Linked DNA regions of Homo sapiens: region 2 is linked to region 1. The links are contacts of gene promoters, found by promoter capture Hi-C in human tissues and cell types (Jung and others, 2019). All regions are on one chromosome and are shown on one strand. Each heading gives the region's core, a stretch centred on a gene start or on the middle of the fragment in contact. The rest is flanking DNA. Distances are from core to core; before and after follow the strand shown.

Evidence for each region. The method cuts DNA at HindIII sites, captures the fragments that hold promoters and counts their contacts. A contact is called where the count stands out against the background at its distance.
Region 2: a fragment that was not itself captured here is called in contact with the fragment with the promoter of OTX2 in region 1 in 1 of the 25 tissues and cell types used here (H1 embryonic stem cells).

The regions. Positions count from the first base shown.
Region 1 is chr14:56,807,738-56,813,713 of GRCh38, forward strand. It overlaps OTX2 (orthodenticle homeobox 2), which reads right to left and starts at 2,742. Exons shown (of 5, transcript NM_021728.4): 1 at 2,639-2,742; 2 at 2,422-2,485. OTX2-AS1 (OTX2 antisense RNA 1) reads left to right here and starts at 5,421. Exons shown (of 4, transcript NR_029385.2): 1 at 5,421-5,732. RefSeq lists an enhancer at 4,122-5,014. The HindIII fragment of the contact is 7,680 bases long and covers 1-5,976 here.
Region 2 is chr14:56,858,240-56,864,215 of GRCh38, forward strand. The region is part of intron 1 of OTX2-AS1 (OTX2 antisense RNA 1); the gene reads left to right. Among named protein-coding and RNA genes, the nearest start is that of OTX2-AS1, 48 kb to the left of the region's middle. The HindIII fragment of the contact is 3,330 bases long and covers 1,399-4,728 here.

The DNA.
Region 1 (5,976 bases), core at 1,492-3,991:
AGAAGGCATGGGCCCTTCAATCTAACTTTCAAAGCTCTTTTCCTCTCGAAGCAGGGTCCAGAACGGGGAAAAGAAATAACTTTTGAAAAATCCACGCCTCACTATGACTGCTCACGAGGTGGCCTCTGGAGAACTCATACCTAGAAGCTGACCGCGGTCGCGCGGCGAGTTCCGGCAGCCGGTCGGCGACCGCACCTCCGGGCGCGAGTGCCTGGGTCCCGCGTTCCTGCCCGGCAGCCCCGCAGCCCCGCAGCCCCGCAGCCCCGCAGCCCCGCAGGCCTGGCGCCCGAGGTCCCGCTCCACTGCCCGCGCCCCCCGCGCAGCCTTATATCTAACGGTCAATTCGTGCAATCTGTCGCTTCTCCCTCCCCCACGCCTTGTTTTTTTTTTCTTCCAAGAAGCCCATCTACCAGTTGCTGTGTCCTCGCTCAACAATAATTACCTCGTCCGAGAATTAATTATAATAAATGTTTTCTTGATAAACTAACGAGATAATCCGAGGGGCACACGTCCCTTAATTACAGGCCGCCATGCTCCTCTCTGCTTCTCGTCCGGGCTGATTAATTTTCTGCATGATGGAAAGGAAACAAAACTACGCGGACTGGCGACTGGCCTGCGGCTGGGAAGACGACGAAGAGGAGGAAAGAAAGAAAAAGGAGACGTGTGGGCACCGCGGAAAACGGCCGGCGCTGGCCTCTCTCCGGCGAACTCGAGTGAAAGTTTCTGGCCTCGGGGAATCAAATAACTCTGCCACCCGCGAGGGAGGGAGGAAGAAACGTGCCAAAAGGGTTGGCCTTGACTATTAATTATCGTTGGGAGAAAGCCCCGGTGTTAGCGCTGAGGTCTGGGTGTCTACCTTACTCTGGGGGGAGGAGTTCCCTCTCCTACTCCCCTCTGTTGCTAATAACTTTTGGTGCCTGTAAAAAGTCCCGAGCTGAGCAGGAGAAATCCTGACCCCGAAGCTCTAGGATGGAGGGGAGAATTTCTAGGAGCGACTTCCCCGTCCCCTCCCCAAGCAATCCACCACCGCAGGGTCGGCGCCGCTCGGCCTTCGCTCCCCGCGCACCAGTTCTATCTGTGAAGGAAGCAAAAGCCAACTCGGTGGAATCCTGACAGGGGACTTGGGTTTCCAAAAATATGTCCCGAAATCGGGCATCGATTTCAAGAGTCACTTGAACGCAACAACGCGAAGACTTCTTGGGAGTTTGCAGAGCGACCCGTCGCCCGCGCCCGGCGCTGGCAGGGACCTTCGGATGGTTCTTACTGGGCCGATCCATGGCACAGGCTGGGCCTCGGCGAACCCCTCGGCCCCCGCCCGGCCCCGAGCCACGACACCTCATTGTCCTGGAGCCTGGGAAGGGGGTGCGCGAGCGCGCGGGCGAGCCCTGCCTCTCCCCGCCAGAGAACAGCTGAGGGGCCGCGGTCCCAGCGGGAGGATTCCGGTCCCTGGCCCGGCCGCGGCCTTGGGCGGAGCAGGGGCCACTAGCTGCCACTTCTGCCCGCCCCAGGTGCGCGCGGAGGGCTACGTGGGGCGGGCCGCGACCCGGCAAAGTCATGTTGAAAAAACACTCTTCACGTTCGCTCGGCCTGGTGACCAGGGTCGGGGACCACGACAACCGGGGGTTGGGAGGCTGCGTAATTACAACCCAGGGTGGTTTGGATTTTGGGGGGTGGTGGATATTTAAAAACAAAAAGGAGATCTGGAAGCTTTTGGGAGAAACAGACAACCGAGCTGTGCTAGGCTGAGGGAGAGGAGGCCAAAGAGAGCGAGCAGTGAGCGCCGGGGCGGACGAGAAGCCAGCGCTCCCAGCCTCCTCGGTTATCCGCTCCGGTTTCCGCTCACGTTCAACAGGGGCCGACAGGGGCTCGAGCGGCGGCCCCCGGCCCAGGCCGACCCGCAAGCGAACCGAGCTTCCGGCGCGCGGGCCCAAGGAGGCGCCTGGCTTTTTATTATTGTTGTTTCAATCCATCCATCTAGTTACATCTGCATCTTTTTGTCTCGGACTCTAAAAAGGTCCCTGGGATCCATCCAAACGACCCCAACCAAATCTGGGGGCCAAAACGCAAAGATCGCGGGAGAAGCCCAGAACGGCGTTGACATAAAAACAAAACCACAAACAAAACCTTCCAAAACACCCCAGATTACATTCGCAGCGTTTCGACGACGTTTTGCAGAAGCGACGACCCCCAGGAGCACGCTCTCTGCCTCTCTCCCACTACCGCTCTCATCTCTAGATCACATTTTTCTTTTTGCAACGATCGTTATTACACCTCAAAATTTGTAAGAGAAAAAATACATCCGCCTACAGAACTCCACGTTCGCAGAGGGGCATCGGTCGGTCTATTGGAGGTACTGGGGTGATGGCCGACAGACACGGGGACACGTAGATATGGATATAGACAAGACAGACGGACACTTACCTTACAGCCTCATGGGAGGTTAGAAAAAGTCAAATATCCTTTAAATTCCAAATAGCCAGCTATCCTAAAAGAAATCAAGAGTATTGAGTTAGAAACCTTGCAGTCTTCACCCTTCCATGAAAAGTCAAACACAACCAAAAAAAATTTTTTTTAAAGAACGAAAATGAGGAAGGCGGCTAGAGTTCTAAACACGCGTGGGCCCCTCTGCAATACATACAAAGTAGATGTGGCGAGTGAGGGCTGCTCTAGCAATTTTTATTTTTAATCACAGTGGAGGCTGTGTTGGAGCTGAGGCCGGTCCCGCTCTCAGGGAGATTTGCTGAGAAAGCGCCTCTCTGGCAACTTTTTGACGCAAACTCTCCAACCAATGGCAGGGAGAGAATGATTGACACATCTAAGCCAGAGGGAAAATAATAAAAACACACAACAGGGGGAGGAAAACAGGCCGCTGCTGCACGGGGGGACGAGCAGGCAACAAATCCAGGCCTCCGACATTACCAGAATGTTCTTTAAAGACACTGGGCTTTGCTTAAAATATACATTATGGGCCGGAGCATGTGAACTAATTGTATAATTAAAATGATGGACAGGGAGTTCTTCTCTTACCCTCTTTTCCCCTGCTTCCTTTACTCCGAAATTTCCTTTCCTCTCTTTTTTTTTTTTTTTTTTTTGTTGTTGTTGTTTTTAGGGAAGGGAAGAAAGGAAACCCATGCAATGTAAGATGGAAGATAAAAATATTTAAGTAAATGCTGGAGAATGGCGGGTTAGGGAGTGACTGGGTTATCACATTCAACCCCAGCAATAAGTGTGTGGATGACAGGCAGAAAGCAAGTCAGACTGAAACTCAAAAACACCACTATGCCGTCTCAGACAGGGCCAGAGCACGCTGACGGCCAGAAAGGGTAAAGGAGGGAGGCCTGGGAGTGCGATGTGGGCATGTAGGGAAAACAGAGAGAGAAAGATACACAAGTCCAAGAACAAACTATTTTCTAAAACTCAGTGTCTTCTCTATTCCCTACGCCCTTATAAATATCCTTACACATATAAATAAATGATCCCCGAGTGAGAGACCCCGGCTTCTGGTAGGTTCCTGGGGTTTTTTGGAATTGAGAAGCCCACGACAGACTGCAGGGAACACGAACCCCGGAATCTAATCTCAGGGCCCATTTAGGAGAAGTAGCTGGGACCACATCGGGCCTCGAGGATGCGAGTGTGAGGTCGACAAGATATCGTGGAAGAGAGCGAACGAGGGAGGCCCCCGTTGGAAACAGTTTCTGTGTTAGAACAAACGCCACCAAACGACCGACACTGCGAGGCCTGGAGCTACCTGGGCTGGCGCCGCCCGAGCCCCGGGCTGCGAGCCCAGAGGCTGGGAAGTGATGGGACCTGGGGGCCCGAGCCGGAGAGTGCGACCCCCAGCCCAACTTTTTTGCCTGGCATAGAAAGCAGGGACCGGACAGGTTTCAAACGGATCCGAGTCCCTAGAAAAGCAAAAACAGACTGGGCGGAGTGTGGGGTGGGGGGTGGCTAGTGGAACTGGTGAGTGTGTGTGAATAAGCTGGGTGGGGGTGGGAGCAGAAGACAGCTCTTGCTTCACAACACCCAGTGCAGGAAAAGAAAAATAAAATCTCTTCCTAAATACCCCACCCCCCGCCACCCACCCACCACCAACTACCATCACCACCACGGCCAGTGGGCCCAAAGAAACAGCTCGCTGCCTTTAATTTGGGGACCTATGTTAATGAAGTTGGTAATTAATTCGTCGCTTTGTTGTCGGTTCTTATACTGTATGTGTACTCAAATGTGGCCGTCCTTGGGATTTACAGCAATTAACGAATTACGGGAGTGCGCACGAGGCAGCAAGCTCTCGGCAGCCGGGCTCCGGCTCGGGCTCGGCCTGGGGCTGGGGACTCCGCGGCAGCGGCCCCTGTCACAGGTGTCCCTAGAGCTTTGGGCCCTGGCGGCCCCTCGAGCCCCCGAGGGGCCCGGAGCCCGCCCAGCTCCTTCCCGGCCCTCTGCAGCAGCTCCAGTCCGGAGACCCGCTGGCTGTCGCGTTCCCAGGAGTCAAGAGTTTCTAGGGGCCCGGGCGGGGGGGAGGGTGAGTACCGACCTTTTTTCTCACCCCACCCCCACTGTACTGAAACACCTGGCGGCCGCCCCCGAAGCCTTTAATGGGGATGGTGGTGAGGAGGGGGTAACAAATGCCCCGGGCGTTATGACCCTCGTGGCGCTGGCTGTCGGAGGCACTGGTTGGGTGCGCTTGGTCAGAGTCATGATGCTTTCGATGAAGGAAAGGCAAATCCACCTCGATCACCTGAAGCAGAGTCTCCTTCCTACCCCTAGAAAAGACAACGTTTCCCCCAGTTTGATCACAATGATGTTTAAAGCATAAAAGAGCCGAAAAAGAAAAATGGACGTTGTGAATCTGGCAGAGGGGAAGGCCGGAGGAAGGCCTTGGGGACAGTGGGCATGGGGTGGGATGGAGAATGATCAGAACATGCGCTTGTGAGCTAAACCAAGTAAACCATTTTGGACTGGGAGATCCATCTGCCGTAGGGTCCAGTGTCCAGGGTAACCTTTCAAGCCCGATGTAGAGGTTTGCGATGTCCTCCCAGATGGCGGGGGCAGCTGAATCTCCCTAAAAATCCCCCTGTTCTATTCGACAGGGGCAGATTTATGCATGGTGGGGCGTGAGAGGGTTTTGCCCTTCCAGCGGCCGGCAGCAGACAGCTCCCGCTTCTCCTTTGCCCTCTAGTCTAATAACTTCGCAGAAATACAGGGCCAATAAACTACGAGTTGGAAATGGACAGTGTTAAATAAACAAGGGTCTCTTTAAAATTCTCATCCACTTCAGATGTCTAAAGTAAGATTGTGATGATTTTGTCACGGTTTGGTAAATTTACCCCTTTAAGAGGCTTTCATAAATCCCAGAACACACCTTCAGCCAGATTTGAATATAGATTTAGGTTTTAAAACCCAGAAGCTGGAAACACCGCTTTATCAAAGAGAATTTCCCTTTAGCTTAGCAATGTGCTGAAGCTCTTAAAAGATTGGATCTGAGAGAGAGAGACAGAGAGGAGAAAGAGAACTAGAGACAGAGAGAGGCAGACAAGGAAGGGGGGGGGGGGTGAAAGACTTTCTTTTTCTTTCTAGAGGAATTCTGCCCAGACTCTGCAGCAGTTGGTAGCAGGCAAGCTTTCTCCTGGGTGTCGCCTTGAAAAGTTGCAAAATTGCTCTTCACCTGTAAGAACATGCTCTTTATCTTCCAGTCTCTTCTTGTCAATTTGGAAATTGCAGACTGCCCGGCTCAGGTACAGTCCCCACAAACCCTATTCTAGGTCAGGACAAAAGCCACTGGCTTTGGGGGAAGGGGGCTGGGCTCTTTTACTGAAAACCTTAGATGCTTGGTGGGAGAAAAAGACTCTTTGGATGAAAAGTCTAACTCTTGATTTTCAGTAAGTTCTTGAACTTCCAATTTACCTAGTATCTGTTCATTGTATTTCTGTGTTTAACTTTTTTTCTGTGTCCTGTGTCGTTAACATTTTTTTTCTATGA
Region 2 (5,976 bases), core at 1,814-4,313, 51 kb after region 1:
CACATGTCTGCAATGTTTGTAAATATCTGCTTCTTAATGTTATTAGTTCTCAAAAATAGTATCATTGTGTTAAATTCTTCCATGTTGTATGGTGCTAGATGCTATACGTGAGAATAAAAAAGAGGAGAAAATGCGTATTACTAGCCTAGTTATTCATTTATGTATTCAATAATTAATTTGACAGATATCAAGCACCAACTTTGTGCCAGGTGCTATACTAGACACTACAGATACAGTGGTGACGTCTCAGAGCTTATAGCCCGGTGATAATTATTGATTGTAATAAGGGCTACAAAGAAGATAAACAGGAGTATGTGATAAAGAGAACTGCAGGAAGCTAGGGAGGTGCTAGGGAGAGCGACTTCAGATAGAGTGGCCAGGGAAAGCTTCTCTGCGAAGGTGTTGTTTAAACTGACACTGGAAGGATGATAAGGAGCCAGAGACGTGCACAGAGCTGGGGAAAGAGCATTTCAGAAACAGGAAGCAAGAAGCACGAAGCCCTGTGCTTGTTACTCTATGTGCCTATTGCATAGTGACCAAGCTGTCGGGGCGTGGGAGAAAGGTATGAGGTGAGGCTACAGAGTTTTACTGGCCTTGAAGATCATGGTAAGGGGTTGAGGTTATATTCTTTTTTCTTCCCCGCAAAAGACACCATTGTTCCAATTTGTTATTCAGTATAGTCAGAGTTAGTAATCATGAGAGCAGCAGGCGTAGCTAATGTTTATTCCTTTGTGTACTAAGTGCCAGCTATTGCAGATGCATTATCACATTCAATCTGCACAATAAATAATAATAGTAATAATAATTATTATTATTTTTGAGACAGTCTTGCTCTGTTGCCCAGGTTGGAGTTGGAGTGCAGTGGTACGATCTCAGCTCACTGCAACCTCCACCTCCCGGGCTCAAGCGATCCTTGTGCCTCAGCCTCCTGAGTAGCTGAGATTACAGGCATGCACCACCATGTCTGGCTGAATTTTTTTTTTTTTTTTTTTGGTAGAGATAGGGTTTCGCCATGTTGGCCAGGCTGGTCTTGAACTCCTGACCTCAAGTGATCTACCCGCCTCAGCCTCCCAAAGTGTTGGGATTATAGGTGTGAGCCACTGTGCCCAGCCACAGTAAGATTATTATTATTATCCCCATTTTAAAGGTGGAGAAGCCGAGGCTTTGAGAGGATGAGTAGCTAGTGAAGGTCACATAGCTAGGAAGTAGGGGGCCAGAATTCCAACCCAGGCCTAGTCTGACATTAGGGCTAGTGTGTATTTTTGTTCTGTTTAGTTTTTTTCAGTGAACCTAAAAGGACTATTTCATACTGTTTTTGTTGATTAGGAATTAAATTGTTTTGTATGAAATATCATTTGAAATTCCTCAATAACATCTGGGGCTCAGAAATATCTTTTTTGTATATATTTAAGGTGCACAATATGATTTTTTGATACTTAGCTTGATATACATATATGTAGTGAGTGAAGTGGTTACTACAGTCAAGCAAATTAACATACCTATTGTCTTATATACTTACCTGTGTGTGTGTGTGTCTGTGTGTGTGTGTGTGTGTGTGTGTGTGTGTGCGCGTGTGGTAAGAGTACCTAAAATTTACTCTTTTGGCAAATTACCAGGATACAATATGATATTACAAACTAGAGTCCTCATGTTGTGCAATTACGAACTAGAGTCTTCACGTTGTGCAAACAGATCTCTAGACTTATTAATGCTACATTACTGCAACTTTGTACCTTTTGATCTACATCTTCTTATTTCCTCCTGTGCTCCCCACAAATCCTGTTTTCACTGTTTTTATGTATTTGTTTTTTTTTTTAAACTAGAAGACATTATGCTAAGGAAATAGGCCAGACACAGAAAGAAAAATACTAGTTGGGACTAAATTCTAAGAACAATACAAAGTCACAGAAGCCATTGAAGAGAGAGACTTTTAGATAAGATTCTTTTAGGAAAAACCTGCAATATTGCTCCTGAACCCGATTCTTATCCCAAAGGCCAGAGACTACAGAAGCAATGCTATCGGTAGAATATTGAATTCCCAGGAGCTATTTGTGCAACATTATAAAGCTCTTTACCCTCTAAAAATGTTAAGAGCAGAATGTTTATGATAGATTTCAAAATGTAGGTGAGCCACTCATTCATTAGCACCTCTGATATGCCAGGTTCTACATGATCTAGGCTTCTTAACTCAAGATCAATACTATCCAGTCATGGGAATGTAACCAAAGCTAATTTGGGAGGAGAGGACATGAAAATAGAAATAAGCAGGCAGATTGTTTCTGGCTAGACAGGGATGGAGAGGATTTGTTATTAAGCAGAGATGGGTTTACATTCTAATTGATGTTGGTGTCTTCAGTCTTAACGTTTTGCCAGAAAATGAACGGGAGGCGGCAGTGGTAGGTGACAGAAGCTTTTCTGCATAACAGTTTACCATGGAATCCACTCACCAGGCTGGGATTTAAATTTGGCTGTAACTCTCGTCAGGGCAGAATATGAGTGGTGTGTGCTTCTTTCTATTGTGGTCCATGGTTATGTCTGCATAATAACTATTGCAAAGAAAGGTGAAAACTTTTGGTTAATTATCAGATGCTTTGCAATGGTCAGACATAATGCATAATACATGTCTCATGGATTTCAGTTTTTAGTTGGATGTGTTGGCATTAAAGTGAGTGTTTGCTAAGGATGGGCACAGATGAACATGTGACCCTCAAAGGAAGCTGGCTTAATGCATTGTTGCATAATAAAGCCAGGAGTCTCTCTCTATATATACATGTGTGTATGTATATACGTGTGTGTGTGTGTGTGTATTTTTAATCAAATGTTATGGTTCTCATTCTATATGCTTTATTTGTTAGGAATAAAGCATCAAAACAGTTTTAGAAAAGGAGCGATTGTTGGATGATTTATATTTAATTTGCTACACTGTTGGAGAGAAAAAGATTAAAAGCAAATTCCAGCTCAAAATCATAGCTTCTTTCAGTCTTGAAGGTATATATATATATCTTCATATACATACACACATACATATATACATATATATATATACACACACACATACATATTTATGTATGTTTTTAGAGACGGGGTCTCACTATTTGCCTAGATTAGTGTCAAACTCCTGGAGTCAAACTCACTGGGAGGACGTAAGCCATTCTCCCTCTCAGTCTCCTCAAGTATCTGTCTGGAAAGGTATATTTTTAAGAGCAGACATACAGCTAACCCAAACATACCACAGCAGGTCAAGAATCCCTATTCAAGAGGGTTTCCTAATGGAAAAAGTCAGAGAACTAGTTCATTTGAGTAAATGTAGCTTATTTTTATGCTATTTCCAGAATAATCACCTTAAATCTATTTTAATAGTCTCACAACAATGCAAAGATTCCATGTTACAAAGTAAGCCTTAGAATTCTAAACCTGTAATGTCAGGTAGGCCCTAAGATTTATTCATGCAGCAATGATAGGCTAAATATCTAATTACTCATTTGTTAAAACACACAGAGCAAAAATAGATTTTCTTTTAAAAGCATTGGTTTTCCCATTTTGCTCTTTGGATTTGAGTCTTTCAGATTACATAACATGGGGCAAATGCTTAAAAGCTAAAACATACATAAGCTACTTCATACTATATTTTATTGCTTTTTAATTTATTTAACTTAAAAATTAAGTTCTATAGTGCAGTTAATATAAGAAAAAGTATAAATTTTTTTAAAAGAGGCATAGCTATATTCTCCAGCTGTTGGTCTGTACCGTTAAATTACCAGTTTTTAAAATTAAAAAAAAAAACAGTTAAAAATATTTGTTAAATAGGTGACTGGGCCAGATGCGGTGGCTCATGCCTATAATCCCAGCACTCTGGAAGGCCGAAGTGGGAGGATTACCTGAGCTCAGGAGTTCGAGACCAGCCTAGGCAACATAGCAAGACCTCATCTCTTAAAAAGAAAAAATTAGCTAGCATACTTGTGTGCACCTGTAGTCCCAGCTACTGGGAGGCTGAGGTGGAAGCATCACTTGAGCCCAGGATTTTGAGACTGCAGCAAGCTGATTGTGCCAGTGCACTTCAGCCTAGGCAACAGAGCACCACCCTGTCTCGAAAAAAAAAAATTTAATGGGTGACTGAAGTTTTCTCTCTACATTCATTAATAAATAGCTTTCAGTGCCCACTGTGTGCCAGGCACAGGGCCAGGATCTAGGGATACAGCAAGGAGAGCAACCCACTTTATTTTTGGATGGGGTTTAAAGGTGTGGACGTGGGATAGGAGACAAACGAGAAAGGAAAAAGGGCTTTAGAGCAGCCAGTTTTGACAGGTATTCCTGCCAGTGACCTTATGCATCCAGTAACTAAGCATGAACATTCTTCTTATTGGTAGTTGTGACCCTCTGATACTAAAGAGATTTCCCCCAAGTTGTCTTATTACATGTCCCACAATAGATGACATTCACAGCCTTCACATACTTCATCACTGAACTCACAACTAGCAGTAGGCTCCTCTTTTATTTTCCATGAACTGATTTTAATTCGGAGAATATTGTAGTTTTTTTTTTTTCTGTCCCAACGTTTTGGCACGTTTGTGTATTCCTCAGAGTACAGCTTCCTATGAGAACACCCTAAGCTTGAATGCTTTGGGGCAGATGTGGGCGATGGTGAGAGGGGAAATAGGACGGGAGGGCTTGAAATCTTTTTGGAATGTAACTTCTCTCCATGAATGCATTTGCATCCACTAGTCTACATTCCCTTGAATCTGTTCTATTTCTGCCATTTAGTGTAAGCATCACAGAAGATGCTGGCTGCCACCGCGGGAGAACAGAGAGTTTTGGTGACTCAGAAAATAACCATATGGCATTCAAGCTTCTTTATGTTGCCCAAAGAGAGCTCACAATAATCTGATCATGGAGTTCGTGCACTGAGAGAAACACCTCTACCACTGTGAAGCAGATTTAAAGTTGCATTTGTTTTCTTTGTCTCCTATCCAAATGAGTATGACAGAGTTTCTTTTAAGAAAATTTGCAACTCTTCCATTTTGGGTGTGTCCTCTGCCAAATGTTTTGGAGACCTTAAAGCAGGGTGCCTGGGTAGGGTTGCTGGATAAAATACTGGATGTTCAGTTAAATTTGAATTTCAGATAAACAACAAATAATTTTTTAGTATAAATATGTCTCATGCAATGCTTGGGATATGCTCATACTAAAAAAATTATTTGTGCCATCTTACATTTTTATTTGCCATATCTGGCAATGTTATGCCTGAGCAATAGGCACCAGAGTATTCATATTGTGGTATCTATAGATAGAGTATTCATATTGTGGTATGCATAGATAGATCAGATTATGATTTTTATTTATTTATTTATTTTGAGACAAGGTCTTATTCTGTCTCCCACGCTAAAGTGCAAGGGTGCAATCTTGGCTCGCTGCTAACCTCTGCCTCCCAACCTTTAGCAGTCCTCCCACCTCAGCCTCCCGAGTAGCTGGGACCATAGGTGTGTGCCACAACACTGGGCTAAGTTTTGTGGGTTTTTTTTCAGTTTAGTTTGATTTTTGTTTTTGTTTTTCTTTTTGGGTAGAGATGGAGTTTCACCATATTGCCCAGGCTGGTCTCAAACTCCTGGGCTCAAGTGATCCTCCTGCCTCGGCCTCCTAAAGTGCTGGGGTTACAGGCGTGAGGCACAAAACCTGGCCCAGATTATGATTTTATGGCACTGTTGACAGCACAGTTTTGGAGCCTTCCATAGCAGCACCACAAACATTGTCTGTCAAGTGTCTACATGCTCATCAGAGTTGTGCTGGCTGCCATGCCGAGTTAAAGTGGACTTGGTCCTTTCAATCTAGAAAGACAACAAGAACAGGACAATATCAACAGTGAGAGACCAGATAAAAAGAAAAGGAAACATGAAAAATTTGACATACATCAAAGGAGTATGTACAACAAATAAAGTGCATCTATTATGTGGACAACTCATTGTTGGGAACTGACACGAG